Linked DNA regions of Homo sapiens: region 1 is linked to region 2. The links are contacts of gene promoters, found by promoter capture Hi-C in human tissues and cell types (Jung and others, 2019). All regions are on one chromosome and are shown on one strand. Each heading gives the region's core, a stretch centred on a gene start or on the middle of the fragment in contact. The rest is flanking DNA. Distances are from core to core; before and after follow the strand shown.

Region 1 (5,585 bases), core at 257-2,756, 65 kb before region 2:
TGTAGTGTCATTACCAAATTTAACTGTATTCAGATCATTTGCATGGCGGTTGTGAAGAGTAGCCTGTTCTTTTTATTGTATTCTGTTATCTAAATGGGTGCATTAATTTTACTGTTGTCTAAATTAGCCACATAGTTTGCTTGTATTGTGTTGGAGACCTGGGGAAGAGTTAAAGAAAAACCCTACCAGTGCTAGTGAAAGTGCCACAACAGCAGACCTGGCCTCATGTTTAGCTTAAAGGGAGACTCAGGTAAAATAGTGAATGAATAATTCCTTATTAAATGCTGGAGAGGAACACAAGTTTGGCTCCTGTGTTTTCCAGGGGCCAGCATTTCTTCCTTTCCCGTTAGATTTGATTATGCATAGTATCATTTATGTGGTTTTTAAATTAGGCCTACAAATATATGGGAACTGTCAGGGGAGAAGAGACCCAAAGGTCTTGGCAGAAATTGGTGAAGCAGAGGGGGAAGAGAACAACCATTGGCCTTGCTGACATTTGAGTTCAGTTGGGATATCGTTCAGTTGGGATATCGTTTGAACAGCCCTCACCGTTAGCTGAGAAATCCTTTTCTGATGTATTTTGGGTGATGTGGCCAACAACATGATAAGAGATGTTTTTGTCTTTTAAAATTATTTACAAATAGAGAGGAGAAGTGCACAAAAGAAATGTAGCCTGTCTTTGGAGTTAACAGAACTCTATAGAGTAAATAACAAATCAGCTTTTTCTAGTATCTGAGCCTGTTTCTACTTTTATAGCAAGCTTCTTTAGAAACTGGAACCCACTCTTTCAAGTCAGTGTACTTTTATACACCGTGGCAGAAATTTACCAAATTATCTTAAAAACAACGTTCATGTCCTTTCCCAATGCAGGAGCCCGTGCCACTTCCTGCATGGTGCACCTTGTACACCTTGTAGCTGTACCTTCCAATCAAGAGTAACTTGGACACTGGAAAATCTGACTTTTCTCATTTGTAGCCGCCTTTAAACATATCCTACATTAGCTGGGTGCAGTGGCTCACACCTGTAATCCCAACACTTTGCAAGGCCAAGGCAAGAGAATCATTTAAGGCCAGGAATTCGAGATCAGCCTAGGCAACATAGTGAGACCCCATCTCTACAAAAAATAAATTAGCTGGGCATGGTGGCACACACCTGTAATCCCAGCTGCTTGGGAAGCTAGAGCAGGAGGATTAGTTAAGCCCAGGAATTCAAGGCTGCAGTGAGCTATGATCTTACCATTGCACTCCAGCCAGGACAACAGAGAAGGACCCTGTCAGTCAATAAGTCAATAAACAAATCCTAGGTTGAATCGAAAAAGCAGTTGGGAGGAAAGATGTGTAGAAAATGAAAGGGGTCTCTAGGAAGATTGTGATCAGACAGGGAGAACAGGAGATGGGCTTACCTAATGATGTCAGTATTCTCAGGAAGGACTGAAGGTGAATTTTGTATTTTATAAACATGTTTAATTTTTAATTTGCAGTGCTTAGTGACCCCCAAACCAGGGCCATCTATGATATATATGGGAAGAGAGGACTGGAAATGGAAGGATGGGAGGTAAGAGAAACTGTGCGTCTGGTGTTCCAGAAAAGTCATTAAACAGTTACAGAACATCTCCCCAAAACCCTGCAATCTGTAATATTGTCTTTGGGAATATTTGAAACCATTAGAGCCCCCTTCCTTGCCCTGTATTTTTGTTTTAGAGGTTGAGTTTTGGACTTGGCTTTGCCACTTTGTAACTCTGAACTTGGGCCAGCCACTCATCTGACTTGTCCTTCGTTCCCTAACCTGTCAAGTAAAACGGAAGAGGGATGGACCGAACCAGTAATTTTTAACCCAGGTGTGGGGCGGGAGCAAGCGGAGCAGGGGGTTGATGGGAGACGATTTCTTCAAGGGTGCAGTTCTGTCTCCATATACACTCCCTTCCACCCTCCACAGTTCTGTGCCTCTCTCTCCACCTCAGTTCTGAATAATTGCTGTGAGGAAATATTTCAGATGGGAGTATGTTATGCACGTGAGCAAAATGGAAGCAGAGTTGCTGGGGTTGCATTGCCTGTAATGACCCTTTCAATTCTCATGTATTATAATATTCAAGCTTTGTCAAATGTGATGAGTGAAACAAAATATATAGCAAATGTGTCGCCCTGGGCAGCCATGCTGTGGGAGAGCAGTCACTAAAATCCAGACAATTTGTTTGCTTTCACACTGCCACTGACTAGCAGTAGAGTCTTGGGCAAGTCATTGGGCTACTAGTGCTTCCATGTTACTATCTGAAAAATGAATATGAAGATTAGTTGTGAAACCCTTAAGTTGCTACAGGGATATATAGGTATCATTAAAGAAACTTTGTTCTGACCCAGGCAAAGTGGCTCACACCTGTAATCCTAACACTCTGGGGAGCCAGGCTGGGAGGATCACATGAGGCCAGGAGTTCGAGACCAGCCTGAGAAACATAGCAAGACCCTGTCTCTACAAAACATTTTTTTAAAAATTAGTCGGGCTTGGTGGCGCACACCTGTATTCCCAGCTATTCAGGAGGCTGAGATGGGAGAATCACTTGAGCACAGGAGGTTGAGGCTGCAGTGAGCTATGATCACGCCACTACACTCTAACGTGGGCAACAGAGCAAGACCCTGTCTCACAAAAAAAAGAAAGAAACTTGGTTCTGATGCCCAATAAATTTTGCTAGTCTGTTTAATAACATTGAATTGACCCTCGTTGAGTTATATTTTCACCATCATGTAAGATTACCCTTGAAGTTCCTTCGTTTTTTTTGTTTTTTTTTTTTTTTTGAGACCAAGTTTTGCTCTTGTTGCCCAGGCTGGAGTGCAGTGGCGCAATCTTGGCTCACTGCAACAAGTGATTCTCCTGCCTCAGCCTTCCTGAGTAGCTGGGATTACAAGGCATGCGCCACTACACCCAGCTAATTTTGTATTTGTAGTAGAGACAGGGTTTCTCCATGTTGGTCAGGCTGGTCTCGAACTCCTGACCTCAGACGATCCACCCACCTCGGCCTCCCAAAGTGCTGGGATTACAGGCATGAGCCACCACACCTGGCCAAAGTTCATTCAATGTTTAGTCTCAAGCATGCGTGCCTGTCTCTTCCAGTTCTGGCATCAAAGCCTTGTAAAGGCCTTCAGATGAGGAGTGGAAGAAAAGCAAAAGAGGATCCTATTTCCTTTCCTGCCTTTCCACTACTGCTTCATATTGGTGGCTCATGGGCCATATTCCACTAATAGCCTTTTTTGGTGTGTGTGTGTGTTTGTGAGAGAGAGTGCGCGCGTGCTCTGTCGCCCAGGCTGCAGTGTGTTGGTGCCATCATGGCTCACTGCACCCTCGACCTCCCAGGCTCAAGTGAGTCTCCTACCTCAGCCTCCCAAGTAGCTGCGACTACAGGCACACACCACCATGCCTAGCTAATTTTTAAATTTTTTGTAGAGATGGGGTCTTTCTATGTTGCCCAGGCTGGTCTCAAACTCCTAGCCTGAAGCTACCCTCCCCCCTCAGCCTCCCAAAGCGCCGGGATTACAGGTGTGAGCCACCGCACCCAGCCTGTTGCCATTTTTTGATTGCCTCACACAGTGAATTCTAGTTGCTAACATTTCAACCCTGGGAGGTTCTGCATGATAATTCAGTCTTCTGTCTTTTCTTGAAACATCTGAAGATCTGGTAACAGTGGATCTGAGGAGCCCTTGCCCTTCAGATGGGGCTGGGCTGTCCAATTTGTCCCAGTCCCCACCACTCCCCCTTGCGTTATGTCTGGCTCTTCTCATCTGCATGTCCTCCTGGCTCCAGTGGGCAGTTGGTATTTGGCCTCTGGCTTGATGGGAATAGCAGTGCTTCCTGTCACATTGGTTCATTGCAGCTAGGTATTAAGCCAAATAACTTAGCATTTTCTCATCCAAAAAGGAAAGTAGAATTCTGTTGTATTTATTCAATTTCCCCGTCACTCTTTATACACTCCTTAAAGCTTCTTTGTTTTTTTAAGATGTGGGTTGGCTACAATTTTTCAAGTCAGCAATTGGAGTCACTGAAAAGCTGTAGGACCCCATTACATATTCCCTCTTCAAAGACTAGGTTTTTAGTCCCCAGCAGCATTATCCCAATCAGTGGAGCACTGGGGTCTGCTGGTAGAATATTGTATGGCTTCCTCTCATCAGACCAGATTATCTTCCCATTAGAAACAAAGCAAATCCACACGCAAAATGGTGGTTATACAAATATATAGGGCTGGGTGCAGTGGCTCACACCTGTAATTCCAGCAGTTTCAAAGGCTGACACAGGAGAATCACTTGAGCTCAGGAGTTCGAGACCAGCTGGAGCAACACAGTGAGATCGCATCTCTACAAGCGATAAAAAATGAAAAAATTAACCAGGCATGGTGGTGAGTGCCTGTAATCCTACTTCTTGGGAGGCTGAGGTGGGAGGATCGCTTGAGCCTAAGGAGGTCGAGGTTTCAGTGAGCCATGATCACACCACTGCACTCCAGCCTGAGTGACAGTGAGACTGTGTCTCAAAAAATAAAAAATGAAATAAATAAATGAAAATAAAAATAAGTGCACAGTCGTGGGTGGCAAGTGGTTAAACATTATTTTCGTATTTTTTTAGTAAACTAAGGAAGTCAGGTTCTCATAGATCAGAATTGGCTTTTTTTTTTTTTTCATGTGGATACTAAGCTTTTGCTGCAAGATAAAAATGCTTTCAAAGAAAACTAAATGAAGACACCTCCCCAGATATTTACTCGGATATGTATTAGTGCTTAACATCCAATAGGAAAATTGAGCCCATTATTCATAATACACAGAAAGTCTCATTGAACTCAAGCACATTCTATGAAGCTGGCATCAACATTCCTTCAAGGAATTCCTACAGCTGGATGGATTGTTCCATATGAGGATTCTCTCACTGCAATAATAGCTTTCACTCCAGGGAGGAAGCTGTATTCCCTTCATGCTGTTGCTGGTATTTTTAGACTGTTAAACTCTTCAGTTGCTGAAGGGTATCCATTTACCACATATTTATTAGGCTACCATATGGGTAGTCAGTGAAGGGTGAAGGGCATTGACTGTTGGTATCCTGAGTGTCTGAGACGCCTTTAATCCAAAGATCTCAAAGTACTCCACCAACTAGAAATCACTCCCCAACCCTGGAGCTTCTTTAGAATGTACAAAATACTGGCCCAGTTGTCAGTCATTAGGTAAATTTTCAGACTTTTTTTTTTTTGAGACAGAGTCTCACTTTGTCACCCAGGCTAGAGTGTAGTGGCACGATCGTGGCTTACTGCAGTCTCGATCTCCCAGCTCAGGCCATCCTCCCACCTCAGCCTCTCAAGTAGCTGAGACTACAGGCATGCATCACCACGCCCTGCTAATTTTTTTATTTTTATTTTTTGAGACGGAGTCTTGCTCTGTTGCCCAGGCTGAGTGTAGTGGCGTGATCTTGGCTCACTGCAACCTCTGCTTCCGGGGTTCAAGTGATTCTCCTGCCTCAGCCTCCCGAGTAGCTGGAATTACAGGTGCGCACCACTATGCCTGGCTAATTTTTGTATTTTTGGTAGAGACAGAGTTTCACCATGTTGGCCAAGCTGG
Region 2 (5,174 bases), core at 618-3,117:
TGTTACCCGGCCGCCACTCTGCTGGGGGAGAGCCGGTGGGGAAATGGGGGGCAGGGGTCTCGGGCCGCCCCTCCCGCCGCGAGGAGCAGGCGTGCGGCCCGCGGGTTTTCTTTCGAGAAAGTCGGTGCCCTTAGAAAATTATTTTCTCAACCTGGTTCAAGCAAACCTTCTCCTCTCCCACCCCCTTGGACCCCAGGGCCGCCCACGGAGCGGAGGCGAAGGCCCGCGTTGACCGCGCTCCCCGCACTGGCGAGCCTGCCCAGCCACGGGAACCGCGGGCCGCCACCCGGGCCTCCAACTCCCGCGAAGAACTTTTCTTTCGGCGGGGAACCAGCAGAAGTGGGTCAAAAACCCGAATGCCAAGTGGAGGGCGGCGACGGCCTCGGGCCGGGGGCGCGCGGGAGGCACCGGCGCGGGGACTGGGGGTTCCACGCCGCCCCCACACGGCCCACGCCGCCCGCCCCCCCGGCCGCCTCCTCGGAAAGCAGATGGCGGAGCGGCCCCCACCCGCCCTCCCGCGGCAGCCGCCCCCCGCGACACTCGGCCCCCGAAGGTGCGGGGCCCATCCCGCGAGTATGTGTGAGGGGGGTGCGCCAGGCAGGATTCCGGGGTCCCAGGCCTGGGGAGGCCCTGCGAACCCCCGGGGGCGGCAGCGAGACCGGCGGGCTCCGGCGCCGCCTCCCCTCCCCCACCCGCCCGCGGTCGCCGGACCCGCACCCCCGACCCCAACGAGCCTCGGCTGGGGGGAGGGGACCGCGCGGGGGGGAGGCCGGGAGCCCCGAGGGCCGATCCCCGGAAGGAGGGGGAGTGAGCCGGGGCGGAGCCAGCAAAGCCCGCGGGCGGGGGGCGGGGGCCCGAAGAGAGAGGCCAGCGCGCCGGGGGGCGGTGGGTGGGGGCAGGACTCGGGTCCCCAGAGCGGGTGGGGCCCCCGGAGGACGCGGCCCCCGAGAGCCGTAGGGGGCGGGGGCCGACTGGGCCCCGCGCGGAGTCAGGGGGCGGGGCGCGGGCCACCGGGCCCGGGGGATCGGGGGAGCAGCCGGGGGCCTCGGGAGCCGACCCCGGTCCGAGGGGGGCCTAAAACTCCTCGAGAGCAACCGGAGCCAGGGGCGGGCGGCGGCTCGGACCGCGTCCCCGGGGGCGGGGAAAGAGTAAGCAGGCCGGCGGGGAGGGGCTGGGGGCGCCGACAGGTCCCAGGTCGACGCGAGGCCGGAGAGGGGCGGCCCGGGGGAGAGAAATAGGCGCAACGGCCCTGGGGAAAGGGCGCGGGGAGGACGCGGAGGTCCGCGGAGGGGACGCGGAGGCGAGGCCCGGCGGAGAGGACCGAGCGCGGGCCCGAGCAGGGGGCGGGGGTTGGGCTCCCGGGGGGGCCGACGAGGGGAAAGCGGGGGAAGGGGAGGGCGGCGCTCCGGGCGACCGGGGGTCTGGCTGCCTGAGGACGGCAGGATCGCGGAGGGGGTGGTCGGGGGCGATTCGGACGCACAGCTTCACTCACCTCCGGGTGGAAGGCGGCGGCGCAAGAGTCAGAGTCCATGTTCCGGGCGGGGGGCGGCGGCGGCTGCGAGAGTGCAGGAGCTGGGATGCTGGAGCGGGGCCGCCCGGGGCTGGGGGCTCGGGCGGCTGCGCAGGGCGAGGGCGGACCCGGGAGGGGTCGCCCGGGCTGGAGGTGATGGGGGGCTCAGCGCGTCGCTTCTCAAGCTCTGTGACCCCGGACTGGCGGTTCCACCGCCGACCGGAGTGGACGATGCAGCTCCCGCGGCGGTAGAGGCGGGAGAGTGGCTGCAGGGGGCGGCGGCGGCGGCGGTGAGCGGGAACCCGACCGGCTCCCCGACCTGACGCCCAGTTCGGCTCGTGTCTCGGGAGGGAGGGCGGGAGAGCCGGGAGGCCTGTCGGGAAATGTAGTCTGGGTGGCGACTGGAAGCCAGCGGCGAGGGGGCGTGGCGCGGGAGGCGGGCGCGGTGCCTTGTGGGAGTGGTAGTCCAAGGCCCCGCCAATACTGCGCACAAAGGAAACCTTGGGGACTCCAACCCCCATGAGGCTCCGCGGCGGCGGCCCCGGTGTGTGGAGGCGGGTCTTCTGGACTCGAGGCCGCGCGAGCGGGGGAGGTGCGGGGGCCCGCGCCGGCTCGGCCGCGGGGGGAGGGGCAGTGTGAGCGGTAGCGCCTTGGTCTCGGCGGGCGCGGGGGCGGGAGTCGCTGCGGCGGTGGGGGCGGGGCTGACGGCCCGGGTTGCGAAGGGCGGCGGCGGCTGGCACCTACCCTTCCTCGTCTCCTACTTGGGGTTCGCGCCCCTTTGTGGGGCGGGGGTCCCCGAGGCCTGGCCGGGAGTAGGGGCGGCAGGGGCGGGGACGCTGACGTCGCGGCCGCCCCGGGCATCGCTCCCCGCTCCCCGCTCCCCGCTGAGGGCGGAGTCGCCGCCCGGCCCCCGCTCCAGGCCGGGCTCAGCGAAGTTGTTTTCGCGGCTGCGGGCTTCGTGCGGCTCCCTGCTCCGGGCCCGCGGGGCCGGGACTGGACCGGGCTCTTCTCTAGGCATCTGCGGGATTCACTCGAGGTGGCCGGGTTCGTGCATTAAAAACACCGGGCCAGCGTTGTCAGTGTTCTAAAGAGGTGTGCGTTCAGTTTGCTTTCTGTTGCCGCCTAAGCCTAACCTTGGGACCGGCCGTTTTCCCACTCTCCTGAATATCCTCCGGCCCGCAGGGCGAGGCGGAGACGCGGTGTTTGGCGCTGGCATCGACTGGTACTTGTTTAGTGGTGTTTAACTGGGATGGGCAGTGTGTAAACGCTGGACCGCAGAGTATCCGACAGCTGTACGTGTGGAAGGCTGGCCGGACACGGTGGGGACTGCCCCTATGCGGTGACCAAAAGGCGGTCTGACGGGAACATTTTTAATATTCGAAAGTGGGGGAAAAAGGTAAGTACAAAACGCAGATGATTCAGTAACCTGTTTGGTAGCTTCGAAGAAGTTAAAGGGGAGTGACACAAAATTGAAAATTCAAATTAGAAAACGAACTCTTGGAGATACTAGTAAGATATTTGACAGGCGCCGAATGCTCCATCAAGCTGGCTGTTGCTATTTCAAGGGTTATGATCATTCTGATGAAGATATTTAATAGTTAGGAGATGGTGTTAATCTTAGAAATACTTCTCTGAGCGGCCGGGCGCGGTGGCTCGCGCCTGTATTCCCAGCACTTTGGGAGGCCGAGGCGGGTGGATCACGAGGTCAGGAGTTCGAAACCAGCCTGACCAACATGGTGAAACCCCGTCTTTACTAAAAATACAAAAATTAGATGGGCGTGGTGGCGGACACCTGTAATCCCAGCTACTCGGGAGGCTGAGGCGGGAGAATTGCTTGAACCCGGGAGGCGGAGCTTGCAGTGAGCCGAGATCGTGCCACTGCACTCCAGCCTGGGCGACAGAGCGAGACTCTGTCTCAAAAAAAAAAAAAAAAATACTTCTCTGAGCCTCAGTTTCCTAAGCTGTTAAATTTTAGCGTAGTGCCTGGCTAAATAAATGGTAGCTTACTGTTGTTGTTGTTGTTGTTGTTTTATTATTTCTGCAATATTGTAGCCCATTGGAGGGCTTCCCAAAGGTGATAAATTGAGGTACTTTACAAGATAAAACATGAAATTACTGATTAAAACAGAGACATTGGACTTGGCCCATCGAGACTTGATTAACAACTTCTTATACAATTGCACAGATGATTTAGCCAGATTTGGAATGTTACCTGGTTACTGTGACCAAAGCAGATGCCCCGAAGTTAGCCTGTATTGCCCAAGGTCATATTCACAAGGAGCAACTCGTTTTGCCAGAATAAGAAACACTGCTAAGGTGTTGATCCCGTTGGTAGTTTAAAAATGTAAATACCAAAAAGAATAATTCTTTTTTTTTTTGGAGACAGAATCTCCCTCTGTCGCCAGGCTGGAGTACAGTGGCGCCATCTCAGCTCACTGCAACCTCCACCTCCCGGGTTCAAGCGATTCTCCTGCCTCAGCCTCCCAAGTAGCCTGGACTACCAGCGCCCACCACCACGCCCAGCTAGTTTTTGTATTTTTAGTACAGACAGGGTTTCACCATGTTGGCCAGATGGTCTTGATCTCTTGACCTCGTGATCCGCACACCTAGGCCTCCCAAAGTGCAGGGATTACAGGCGTGAGCCACCGCGCCTGGCCAAGAATAATTATTAGAGGTGAAACCCAAGTGAAAGAAGAGGGATTTTTTTTTTTACACCTCATTATTATCCCCTGTGGTAAATGTGTCACATAATAAACATTAAATCCTTTCCCACACACACACATATTAAGAAATTATCGGGCCAGGCACGGTGGCTCACACCTGTAATCCTAGCACTTTGGGAGGCCGAGGCAGGCAGATCACCTGAGGTCAGGAGTTCGAGACCAGCCTGACCGACATGGGTCAGGGAGGTGGAGGTTGCAGTGAGCCGAGATCACGCCATTGCACTCCAGCCTGGGCAACAAGAGCGAAACTCCATCTCAAAAAAAGAAAGAATGGCCACCCGCCTCAGCCTCCCCCAAAGTGCTGGGATTAACAGGCGTGAGCCACCATGCCAGGCCTAATTTTTTTTTTTTTAAGACAGGGTCTCCGTATGTTGCCAAGGCTGTTCTGGAACTCCTGGGCTCAAGGGATCCTCCCACCCAGGCCTCCCAAATTGTAGAGTTTACAGTCCTGAGCTATCTTGCCTGCCTGGAGTGAATACCCACTCTGAGCAAAAGTTATCACTTGAGTCTGAAAATCTGTCCCCTGACTCAATCCATGTTTGGGATTTTCCTTCCTTGATGTAACCAAGTAGTCCAATATAGGCCTGTGAATTCTAAGCTCAGTTTTGTCAACAAGTCCATTATTCTGAGTAGGTCCTTCATTTCCAATTTGAGAGTTTATTCTTCTTTCTTTTTTGAGACAGTTTCACTCTTGTTGCCCCTGCTGGAGTACAGTGGTGTGATCCTGGTTCACCACAACCTCTATCTCCCGGGTTCAAGCGATTCTCCTGCCTCAGCCTCCTGAGAGCTGGGATTACAGGCATGCGCCACAACACCCGGCTAATTTTTTGTATTTTTAGTAGAGACGGGGTTTCACCATGTTGGACAGGCTGGTCTTGAACTCTTGGCCTCATGTGATCTGCCTGTCTCAGCCTCCCAAAGTGCTGGGATTACAGGCATAA

What was found. The method cuts DNA at HindIII sites, captures the fragments that hold promoters and counts their contacts. A contact is called where the count stands out against the background at its distance.
Region 1: a contact is called between a fragment that was not itself captured here and the fragment with the promoter of PHF13 in region 2, in 2 of the 25 tissues and cell types used here (heart right ventricle and ovary).

The regions. Positions count from the first base shown.
Region 1 is chr1:6,674,363-6,679,947 of GRCh38, reverse strand. DNAJC11 (DnaJ heat shock protein family (Hsp40) member C11) reads left to right here. Exons shown (of 16, transcript NM_018198.4): 3 at 1,481-1,554. Among named protein-coding and RNA genes, the nearest start is that of DNAJC11, 25 kb to the left of the region's middle. The HindIII fragment of the contact is 5,628 bases long and covers 1-4,320 here.
Region 2 is chr1:6,610,424-6,615,597 of GRCh38, reverse strand. PHF13 (PHD finger protein 13) reads right to left here and starts at 1,867. Exons shown (of 4, transcript NM_153812.3): 1 at 1,493-1,867. The coding sequence starts at 1,531. It overlaps LOC107984913 (a long non-coding RNA gene), which reads left to right and starts at 2,211. Exons shown (of 2, transcript XR_001737882.3): 1 at 2,211-2,906. RefSeq lists silencers at 679-1,138, 1,279-1,368, 1,539-2,318, 2,369-2,418. The HindIII fragment of the contact is 11,446 bases long and covers 1-5,174 here.